Linked DNA regions of Homo sapiens: all the other regions are linked to region 1. The links are contacts of gene promoters, found by promoter capture Hi-C in human tissues and cell types (Jung and others, 2019). All regions are on one chromosome and are shown on one strand. Each heading gives the region's core, a stretch centred on a gene start or on the middle of the fragment in contact. The rest is flanking DNA. Distances are from core to core; before and after follow the strand shown. Region 1 holds the start of DLX6 (distal-less homeobox 6). Region 2 has its middle 62 kb from the start of SEM1. Region 3 has its middle 120 kb from the start of SEM1.

Region 1 (3,660 bases), core at 353-2,852:
GACCAAATCCTCAAACAAAACACAACCAACAGCTCAGACCAGCCCACGAGCAGGCTGCGCCTCTCACGGCAACTTTGTCCCCCTCGGGTGCTGAGAACCATCAGCCCGAGGTTCTTTGCTTCCCCTCCACGAACAAAGGAGCAGCCAACACTGTAGCGAAAAGCTAGATAGGGGGCCCGGTCAGGGATGAAGGTGAGGGACACTTTAAAGCCCACTGGAAAGAGCCTGACTGTTACTAGTTTAACCAGAGCGAAAGCCAGGCCAGCTTCCCTCCGAGTCACTGAGGAGCACGGGGCGCCCCACGCAAAGTAGGCCACTGCCTGCCCAGCGTGGGCTGGGAAGCAAAACACGCTCCCCAGTTCCGGCCCAGAAATGTCCCCAGCCGGGTCAAACGTGGGTTACAGCCTGGAGGGAAGGAGCAAGGAAAAGGGCGCACAGACCCAGGAGGCTGGAGAGCGCAGTGTGGACTAACTCGTCGAACGAAGCCTGCGCCGGGCCCGGGACTCAGCCCGAACTGCGCGTCGGAAGCTGAGGGTCCGCGGCGGCGGGAAGGGGCCCGGCTGGGAGAGGCCGGCAGGCAGGCGCCAGGCGAGCGGGCGCGCACGGGGCCCGGCCAAGGGCGCGCGGGGCCGCCTGGGGGAGGGGGCCGGCGGAGGCCCGGGCGTCGAGGAAGTGAGCGGGCGGGCGGGGTAGGGGGCAGTCGGGAGGCGGGAGAAGCGAGCTGCCCCAGCGGCCTCTCACCTGTGTCGTCCCCTCGCGTCTGGGCGGCTGCGCTGCTGTTGTGGTAGGACTGGAGGTAAGGGCTGTGCTGCGAGTGGCTCATGTAGGGGTAGGCGGCGAGCGAGCGGTGGTTGTAGGAGTTCCCTCCGCCCGACGCGTAGGGCGAGCCGTGGTGGTGGTGCTGGTGGTGGTGGTGGTGGTGCGAGCCGGCCGCTGCCGCCGCCGCCGCCGAGTGCAGGCAGTGCAGAGGGTAGTGCGCGCCTGCCATGGCCGGGGAGCTCTGCTGCGAGTGCGGCTGCGGCGGCGGCGGCGGCGGCGGCGGCGGCTGTTGCTGTTGCTGCTGCTGCTGCTGCTGCTGTTGCTGCTGCTGCTGCTGCTGCTGCCCGAACTCCATGAAGGCGGATTTGGACGAGTCCTGGCCTTCCAAGCCGTCAGCCATCGTAGTCATGGTCATCATCAAAAACTTTGGGGGCTGGAGAAAGCCTTCTCCCGGGTTTCCTCCACCCTCCCCCACTTGGCTCGCGCCGCTCTCCCCTCTGCAGCCACCTTAGCTCTTTGGATCCTTGCAAAAAAAAAAAAAAAAAAAAAAAAGAATTTAAAGAGGGGGGTGGAGGTGGTTCTCCCTCTCCCTCGCTCTTCTCTAATATATATATATATTTAATATAAAGAGATATAGTGAGCGGGGCCTTGTTAACTCAAAGGGAGGAGGAAGGAGGAGGGATGGGAGAGGAGAGGGGGAGGGGGGAATCTGCTCTCCCCCCGCCTGCTTTCCCCCCTTGGATTTTTTGGGGGCTGGTGCAGTTTAAGGCAGAGATTTTAAGGTGGATTCTGCGAAAGTTGCGCGTCTGCTTTCAGACTTGATGCAGACGCCACGAGTCGAATGGTTTGTCTCCAAAGGGCAGTGCCTCCCCATTGGTCAGTCGCCCCCTGACGTCACAGGCGCACGGCTTCTACTGGCGTGTGCGCGACTTGCAGAGTTCTTCGCCTACCTTCCGCAGTTCCAATCCCAGCCGGAGCTGCAGCCGGGGGCCGCGCTGTGTGGCGCCCGGGGCCGTTGGGGAGGGAGGCGCCTCTGCCCGGCCGGCCGCCGATGCTTCCCGCCGCAGCTCGTGCCCCAAATCCCGGAGCCCCAGTTGCCAATATCTCAGCCTTGAAACAGCCAACTGGGGGCTGCTCTCTTTCAATCCCTTTGCACCCTTGTAGGTTGCCTGTGCTTAGAAGCAGTGACCCCACCCCCGCATTAAATCCAGGCCCCCCTTTCTTGACGTCCCTGCCACTCTGGTCCTACTACACTCTTGTGGGAGCTCCTTGTCACCGTGGATTTTTCTAGACGTATTTTATTGAAACCACAGAAGGAAGACGAACCCTCACACCTGGGCTCCACCCCACTGGGGGGTGGTACAGAAAAAGAAAAATCAGACCCTGTTCTGGCTCGGTCCCTGCCGTTTCAGGCCGTATTTCTTATATATTGTACAAAAGGTTGTGGGGGGGGGGGGCGTCTTTTTTTTCTTTTCAGAACGCAGCAGCGTGTTCTGAAAACGAATCGTTGGAGGACTGACAGTAATGCATTTTTTCCTATTGAAAACAGAAGCTACTGTAATGCTTTCAAATATATGCAAATGATACATGCGGTTAGTGGTTTGGCAAATCTTGATTACAATATAAACTACCCAAGTAAAAGTGCCTTCGTCCTAAATTTGTCTCTCGATTACAATTCCAATTGATTTTATTTTATTGTCAACATTGTTAATGATAAAAATAGAGTCGTTTTACAGTTATTTTTACTTTCTGGAAGGAGGCAATTAGAGTTCTAATCAGGAATACACAAAAATCTCCCATGATTAACTGCAGTACTTTGTTCAAATTGCTGCTATAAAATTCAGAACAATTTGCCTGTAATGATTATGGACTGGGTTTATTTTGGGAGGTGGAATAAAAGTGGATATAGCATAAATTATCCTCTAATTATACACCAGTGTCGCCTCAATTATCCTCTTATCAAAATGGTTGTCTAACTGCCGCATTTAGTTTCAATTCTCTCCTTTTTTTCTATAAAAAGAACTTCATACCTTGTTATTATTAATCCATTTATTATTTGCAAGGGGATTTATATCCGCACATCCAGGTGGTAGAACCACTTCTCTTTCAAAGATGGACTGGGGAAAGACATTAAGTTCGGAGCAGCCCAAGGCTGCGGATCTAGCCTTTCTCCCTCCGGTCTCCAGACCCACGCAGGTTAAGGCAGCCAAGCAGAGACAGCGGAGCCCCGGTGCGTGGTTCAGGCCTGGTCAACAGGTAGGAGGGCCAGACTGGGGGCCAGGCACAGAGGAGGGCAGGCCCGCCCGCACCGGCGTCCAGGGTCCCGGGTTCCGGGTCCCGGGACTGGAGGAGGTCGCCGGCAGCCCGCCCTTCCAGAGGCTTGAGATTGGGTGGACGAGACCTGAAGATCCTCTCGGTCTGGACCCCGACTTTCGATCTGCTTAGAGACCTAAGCCGCGAGCCTTTGCCCACACGGAGAAACGTACTATCTAATATCTAACAACCCTGTACTGCAGTGTCTGGAGGTTGCGGGAAGGAGACAGTGTCTCCCTTTGGGAAAACTACTGAGGACTTCTGTATATCCTACTTCTTCTGGACTCCATAAGTTACAGGACCGAAGGAAACTGAGAAATAGAGAAAAGGTGCCGCTTGCCCCTTTAACTCCAGAAAAGGGTGGCTGCAGATGGAGCAGCTTGGACTTTATTTTTTACGTTGCGCGAAGCCCGCCGGCAGCGGCTTATGCCAATTGATTTTCCCAGCTCCCAGCCCTGGATGTCTAGCTATCTCCAGGACAGTTTGTTTTTTTCTTTTTCTGTCTTTCTTTCTTTCCTTCAATGTATCAGAAGACCTGAAGCTCGCTGCCCGCGAGTTTCCTCCGAGTTCCCAGGTCAGCGGCGTTTG
Region 2 (3,660 bases), core at 784-3,283, 230 kb after region 1:
TGGTGTATGTCACTATCAATTTGAGTAATTGTCACTGTAACACCATATATTATGAATTGAAGCACAGAAATAAATGGTGTTGAGGGTAACTCTATCTCGCAAGCCATTCATCATCCCATAGCATGGGATTTCTTCAGGAGAAAATAAACAGCGAGAGGAATCTCAATTCTACTCCACCCCCACTCCCCATCCCCAGCTCCCACCCCCACAAAATATATAACATCTTTTCTTCCTTAGTCTCCTGTTTGCCTTTTTCTTTTCATTTTTCCCAGCCTGTCTATTATGGAGTGATATACTAGGCATAGAATCACCATTCCTTTTTCTTCTTTACTGTGTAAATGTCAGTGGAAAGTATGCCAAGTTCCAGACACAATATAATCATAATACTACCACTGTGTTTCTGGATTAATTAATCATAATGAATGAAATTTTTCTTGATTCTGTATGCCAAGCCTGGAAGCATAATTCAATTTCATCTTTGACTTCTGTAGCCTGAAGCAACCACTTAAACTCAGCTGTCATAAGGCTTTTGGAGGGAGATCAAAAAACACTAAATAGGAAAAAAAATCCAACTTGCTAAAAGCCATAAACGAAGCAGAAAATATTCTTTTAATATACCAAAAGAAAGGCATCTACATATATATTAAAAGAAGGGCACAATAAAATATTGCTATTTTCCAAATATGATTATAAAATGTGATGACACTGCCTTTCAAAATCTTTGTTTTCTCCTCCCAAACCATCTGAAAATAGTATTAGACATGAGCAAAACACACATTGGAACAGTGAATGGGAACACTGAAAGTCTCCGTGAAAACTAAACTAATTTGGAACCTATCATAACTTGTTTTCAGCTTTAGAACCACTAAATCATTATGAAAACACCTAAGTTACTCTTTTTGAAATCGTATAATGGTAACATGGACTTTCTGTTGTGTTTGTTTCTAATCTAGATCCTATCCCCTTGGGGGCCCTTTATATATGAAGTTGAATTGCTTGTGGTTTAATTTAGAATCTATGACATTCATTGTTTTCATTCACTGTGGAAATAAAGATGACCATAAGGAAAAATATCATTCTTCTGTAATCTTAGCACTCAGAGATATCCCCAGCTAATATTTTGATGTATAGAATTTTATTCTTTGTTCCCTGTTTGTGTGTGTCTAGCATATGTGTAACAAAATGATAAATACACAATGTATCTACCTTTAACAAGATAGCAGAAACATCCTTTCTTGTCATAATGTTCAACTCTCTCTTTTGAATGGTTATATATTTCAATAATTTTCATAGGATCCAAAACTGAGATAGGTCCAGAGCAGCCATATTTATGATATTGATGGACATCTAGCAGAGAAGAGGATACTACAATGGCTTCAGAGATTAGTTCAGTTTGTGCTTGCATTTTGATTGAGAATGTATCTTGACTCTTCAGCATTCTTTGAATGACACCTACACCATCTTAAACTTCATGTTCATTCACTGTGATTACAAGCCGCTGGGCACTAGAAATTAGTAAGACTGGTGTTTCTGGGAAAATGGTTCCTTCCACTCTGAGGATGCTTTTGCTATATCCTCTGATGAGGGTATTTCTGTATTCTTTGCCACTTTGCTGCTGACACAAGTTAGACACGACCTTCATTATGACTCAAAGCATCCACACGATCCCAGGCATCCATTCCATTGTGACATGACAGGAGCCTAGTTATTGAAATGAACATCTTCATGCTTCTTAGTGGCAAAGATCTGGAAAGAGGCAGTAATAAAGCCGCTGACAGTACATGCAAAACATATTGAACAGTCAACACCTTCTATTCACATGCAGAATCATTCCTGGGCGGACTTACTAGGGAAGAGACAAGAGGGAGTGCATGCAAGTTTAAATCTGCAACAAAAGATATGATGCAGAAGGAGATGAGCAAGATGGGATGGGAATAATTATTCAATCAGAGCGATGAAAAAATAACACAAAAGCCACAGGAATCTGTTGAGGTTGAAGGGGAAAAATGTGAAAGAACCAAATGAATTGCTTTACAAGAAAGGGCCACAATTCAGAGATTACAGGTGCTTTGGTGGTAACTGGGGATCCCCAATAAAGCAAATCCACTTAATCTTTGATTAGCACCTCTAACCACAATGAAGCCGTGGTGGATTTGATTTTAGGTTGGATATTCAACTTCAGGACAAGTTTTAGTTTTAAATTTTTACCCAATAAATATTTTTAATAATCATTTTTTAAAAACAGTATTAACCCTGCCCAAACCCATTCTCCACTGATGCTGGCACACAGGGCACCGAATGTAGTAGACATTTACTCATACTTTTTAGAAATGAAAAATAAACATGAGGCTAATCATAGCCACATATGTGTCCAATTTTCCAAGAAAAAAAAATTTCTACTGGTTTATAAATTGGGAGACAACCATTGTGATGACATTTCCCACGCATCAAACCCAGAGTAGCTGTGAACTAATTTATTGTCCATTGATGTTGCAATTTTCAGTATACAGAATCCAGTGGAAATCTGGAACTGATTCCCAGTTATACCCACCTTATGACTCCATGTGAAACTCTAAAACAAGCCCCACACTGAGGACTAGAAAGTCTTTCTTTGCCTCAGAATGAGATTATTTACTTACACTGAGGTTTCAATCTGTTTCCAGCAGAAAATAGCAGCCAATAGCACTTTTACAGGCATTTCTGAGAGACTGCATCCATAACTGAATGGAAAACTTGGGACCCTATTTTACCCCACAGTGAATGCCTGGTAGCAACTCTGGTTCCGTGGTCCCACCAGACTCAGCAACAAGGTCTCCCAACAGAAATGTACTCTGGTCTCATGCATAGTTTCAGGGGCTGCATCTTCCCCATGAATAAACCTACAGGGGGCTCTGTCTTTGGAACATCCAGCCGATTGGACTTTTTATTTGATTTCGGTTGAAATGGAATTTCACTATTTTCAGTTCTGCAAGGACAGGTGCCATAGTATAGGTTTTCCAGCCACAATGGTTGATGTGGGCTGACTTACAATGTACTCATTGTGGTTACACAAGATTTACGTGCCATGCCTTCCTTTTAACATCCCTTTCTCAGCCCATCCTGGGAAAAGAAATGCTTGCTAGATTCTAGATAAGTCACTCTTTACTGTTTCTGTCAGATGTCATTCACTGGGGGACAGTAATGTGCCTTATGGAGATAAGGTGAATTGCCTGTTTCATGGCACGAATCTGAAAGCATCCTTGAATTCAATTCAACAGTCTGACCGCCAGACAGCTCTTGAAATCATGTAAGAGGAAAAGAAAGAATGGGATTCTTATCTGGGAAGTGCCATACTGTAAAACTATAAGCATGATGTGCTGACGGACCGATGGGATGGTAGATTACATTAACACATGAAAAACAGAAACAGATTTGTTAGAGGGAAGGAAAATCACCTTATTCATTAAATTTGCCTACTTTTATGCTTTCTACTTTTTTAATAGAATTTTTTCCACTTTTTTAAAAGAAGTAAATGGTTTTATCCCAAACAAAACTGTAAAACAGTTGAATTGATCTCTGTCATTCACCCTTTATCTACCAAACCACTCTCCCTGATCAGAGAAGCCACTAGTCCACATCATGTTCTCTGTGTCTCTCCAACTTTATCTATCTTCCTCTGAG
Region 3 (3,660 bases), core at 332-2,831, 170 kb after region 1:
ATGGCATTCACAGCAACCTGGATGGAATTGGAGACTATTATTCTAAGTGAAGTAACTCAGGAATGGAAAACCAAACATTGTATGCTCTCACTCATAAGTGGGAGCTAAACTACAAGGACACAAAGGCATAAGAATGATAGAGTGATCTTTGGGGACTGGTGCGGGGGAAGGGTGGAGGTGGTGAGGGATAAAAGACTACACACATTGAATACAGTGTACACTGCTCAGGTGATGGGTGCACCAAAATCTCAGAAATCACCACTACAGAACTTATTCATGTAACCAAACACCACCTGTTCCCCCAAAACCTATTGAAATAAAAAATAAATTAAAAAACAACAAAATAATAATATAACAGCTTCTTATGCATATGAAGTATATTTAACATTCATTTTAAAATAGAAAGTACTATCATTGTCTTCTTGAAAAGCTCAAATATGAGTTTTTGGCTTTTTTCTGTATTGTTTGCTTCTAAAGAATTATTCATAAATGCTTTAAAGGAATAAACATAGCGTTATTGTGACTCTGCTTGATTAAAAATGCCATTCCCTTTTCCCAAATGTAAAGAGAATGAAGTTAGGATAAATAATCTTTGAGATATTTTACTTCAAATACTTAATGGCTTTAATATATGTCACGATAATACCTCGTTTTTAAAGCAAAGAACCTTTCTTATTTTCTCAGAAGCCTCAAAAGGCAAAGGAAAAATCAGTGTATTGATCCCTACAATGGATTCCAATGTTATTCTAGCTTCAGAAGGTGTCCAGTTACAGAGAAACATTTTAGTAATCATAAGGTTGAGACAGACCTTATGTGACCCTATTCATTCCTGACCAACAAATAGTTTTTGTTTAACTTCGAAATAAACCAGACAAACCCTGCAAGGTTACTTGTAATCATGACACCATTCTTAGAATTGCCATGTGCTGGGAACATGCCTTCTCGCTTCCTCCTTCTATCTACAGTGTAAATCTGAAGGACTTTGTTATGGCTCTTATACTTGGCACATCTTAGGCCTATTTAGAACATCAACACCATCAATCACATAATATGGGGCCGACCAGCTGGATGAACCCTGGCTATCATTCAGGGGTTATTTGTCATCTGGGCATGTCTGTTTGGTATATAACACTCCTTCAGTCCCAGAACAATTTTCCCCCTCCAAAAGTATTCTCTTTGATTCAGGAAACACGTGATTAATAAAGGACAAGGGTTTAAAGCCTGAGGTCAAGGCTAAAAGTCTTAACCAAACAAGTGCATTGCTTACTAACGTTTGCATCAGCAGTTAAAAATTCCCTTGAAGAACTCCCACACCGAAGAAACACACATCTATTCTTAAATGCCATAAATTTCAGGGGACTTCAGCAACTATGATCATCTTGAGAGATTTATTTTAAAATAATGTTGTGCATCAGAAATGTTTTGCTGCAGAATAATAACACTGCATCAAGCATTTAAAAGGCTCAGTACAAACATTTACAATTTAATATAAAAAAATTAGGGTTGAAAAGACACAGTTTAACCAATACGATATGTAAAGGAAATTTGTACTATAACATTAGGACAATTTACATTAAAAATAAATTGTTTTCTAAGATGTCTATTTACACTTAAATGGATTTAAAAGCAACACTCCTTCCCTCATATCCTTTGGCTTATTTATATGCCAATCTACAATACTTTATAGTACTTTTCCATTAGATAGTTTTTATTTTATATTTGTTTCCCTTTCTTTCACCAAAAGAAGCTTGTTTCATGTTCATAGAATATTTTCTTCCTTCTAGGCAACTTATAGTTCCACCCTGTAATAGTATTTGCCTAGTATTTATCTGATATTATGAATTGTTGGATGTATGTATAATGACAGAAAAAAAGCAAATTTTAACAACATACATTTAAAAAGTAATTGTTGGTTAAGGTTTTAAATTGTCCTAACATGACTTAACTGGAACTGACTTCATTTCTTAATCTAAAAAAATTGATTTAATAGTGTTTATTTCATTGGAATTATAAAGGGAGTCACAAACTCCCACTGGAATTCTAAACAGAGTTTCTCAGAAGATGATAAATAGATTGTGTTATAGCACTGATAATGTTGCAAGGCCTAAGGAGCTCATGTCAGTTGTTACTTTATCCAACTTGTAGAGACTTCTAAGTTCCTGAACACAGGCCACTTTAGGTAATCAGATTTGCTAGAGTTCATCTTTCTATACCTCCCACCTCTCTGCCAAATACCAAAGGAATAAAAATAGAAGCTCGGTACAAAACACACTGTATTAAAAATAAGTTGTCATTGAAATTCATACAGGCAATGCATTTATCCTGTAGACTGCATTAGAATCATAGCTTTGCAAGCAAAAAGGGGTTTCCATGTCCTCTGGTCAGATTGCTCATCCTACTGCTGTGGAAATTGAGCCTTTAGGAAGGAACTGGCAGAGGTAAGACTAGAACACTGGTCTCCCATGTCCCTGTCCAGTGTTTCCTGTGTTGAGATATAAAGCCCTCTTATGGCTCAACAGTTAGTGCAGAATCTTCGGGTTAATCTGACTTGCTCTAGCTTGGCCATCTGTTGCTCCACTACTTATGCTAATATGTTAACATTATATACTTGACTGTTGATGGGGCCTTCTTGGCACTATACATGCATAATGCTCCCAGTTAACTCAGTTGACCCTGTTAAACAATGACAATGTGTGTGAGGTCCAAGTTTGTTCACATTCATTTTTACAAAAACAGGGTTACTGACCTTGTCATATTTAACAGTGTTGAGTAGACACAGCAATGTAGATCCTGAGGGCAAATAAAGAATTTCCATTGGTCATGTAAGAACTATGTTAATTAGCTTCCCCCTCCATTCTGCTTCCAGACACTGCATAACTCTATAGTTCAGCTAGAAGGCTCACTGAGCCCTAAACTAATAAAACCCAAGAATTTTTATGAATAATAATTTACAAAATGTATTTGAGCATGCACAACTTAGAAATGTGTTCATATGTGTTTCTCTAAGAAACAGTGGCTTTTGCAGAGCAGTGTGCCTGGGGGAAGTTATCACTCTATTTTTGCTGTTGCATCTCTACTGCATAGAAGTGAAACAATGAAGTAGACTGATTTTTTAAAAAAAGACATAAAATGGAGCCAAGTGTGGTGGCATGTGCCTGAGTATAGTCCCAGATACTCAGGGGGCTAAGAAGGAGGATTGCTTGAGCCCAAGGCTGTGGTGCTCTGTGATCATGCCTGTGAATAGCCACTGCACTCCAGGCTGGGCAACATAGCGAGACTCCATCTCTAAAAGAAATAAAAAATGAAAATAGAGTCATCTCTTTATCTATATTCTCTAAGAACCATTTTCTCAGCTTGAGATAAAAAAAATGCTGCCACACAATGACTAAGGAATTATATGTGGGGCTGGTTCACATATCTAAGCACTGGATATGAGCATTCTTACCTTAGTAGAAAAACAAGCTAAGTTAATTTTTCAACAAGCAGTATTACCTTGGTACATCTTGTTCTCTCTTTCCCTCGGGGTCTTATATGAATGAATCAGAAAATTGCTCCCTTATGTGAAGCCTGAGTCTGCACCTGTGTTAAATTCACATGGAACTGAAATTGGGGGTGTGGGGGTGGGGATAAATGTCAGAAAAGCTAATGGGATGATATATC

What was found. The method cuts DNA at HindIII sites, captures the fragments that hold promoters and counts their contacts. A contact is called where the count stands out against the background at its distance.
Region 2: a contact is called between a fragment that was not itself captured here and the fragment with the promoter of DLX6 in region 1, in 2 of the 25 tissues and cell types used here (bladder and thymus).
Region 3: a contact is called between a fragment that was not itself captured here and the fragment with the promoter of DLX6 in region 1, in 1 of the 25 tissues and cell types used here (thymus).

What each region holds. Positions count from the first base shown.
Region 1 is chr7:97,003,495-97,007,154 of GRCh38, reverse strand. It overlaps DLX6 (distal-less homeobox 6), which reads right to left and starts at 1,602. Exons shown (of 3, transcript NM_005222.4): 1 at 742-1,602. The coding sequence starts at 1,177. The region is part of intron 1 of DLX6-AS1 (DLX6 antisense RNA 1); the gene reads left to right. RefSeq lists a silencer at 752-851 and an enhancer at 2,164-2,885. The HindIII fragment of the contact is 17,411 bases long and covers 1-3,660 here.
Region 2 is chr7:96,770,487-96,774,146 of GRCh38, reverse strand. No RefSeq gene overlaps it. Among named protein-coding and RNA genes, the nearest start is that of SEM1, 62 kb to the right of the region's middle. The HindIII fragment of the contact is 5,784 bases long and covers 1-3,660 here.
Region 3 is chr7:96,831,382-96,835,041 of GRCh38, reverse strand. No RefSeq gene overlaps it. Among named protein-coding and RNA genes, the nearest start is that of SEM1, 120 kb to the right of the region's middle. RefSeq lists an enhancer at 863-1,358. The HindIII fragment of the contact is 5,301 bases long and covers 1-3,660 here.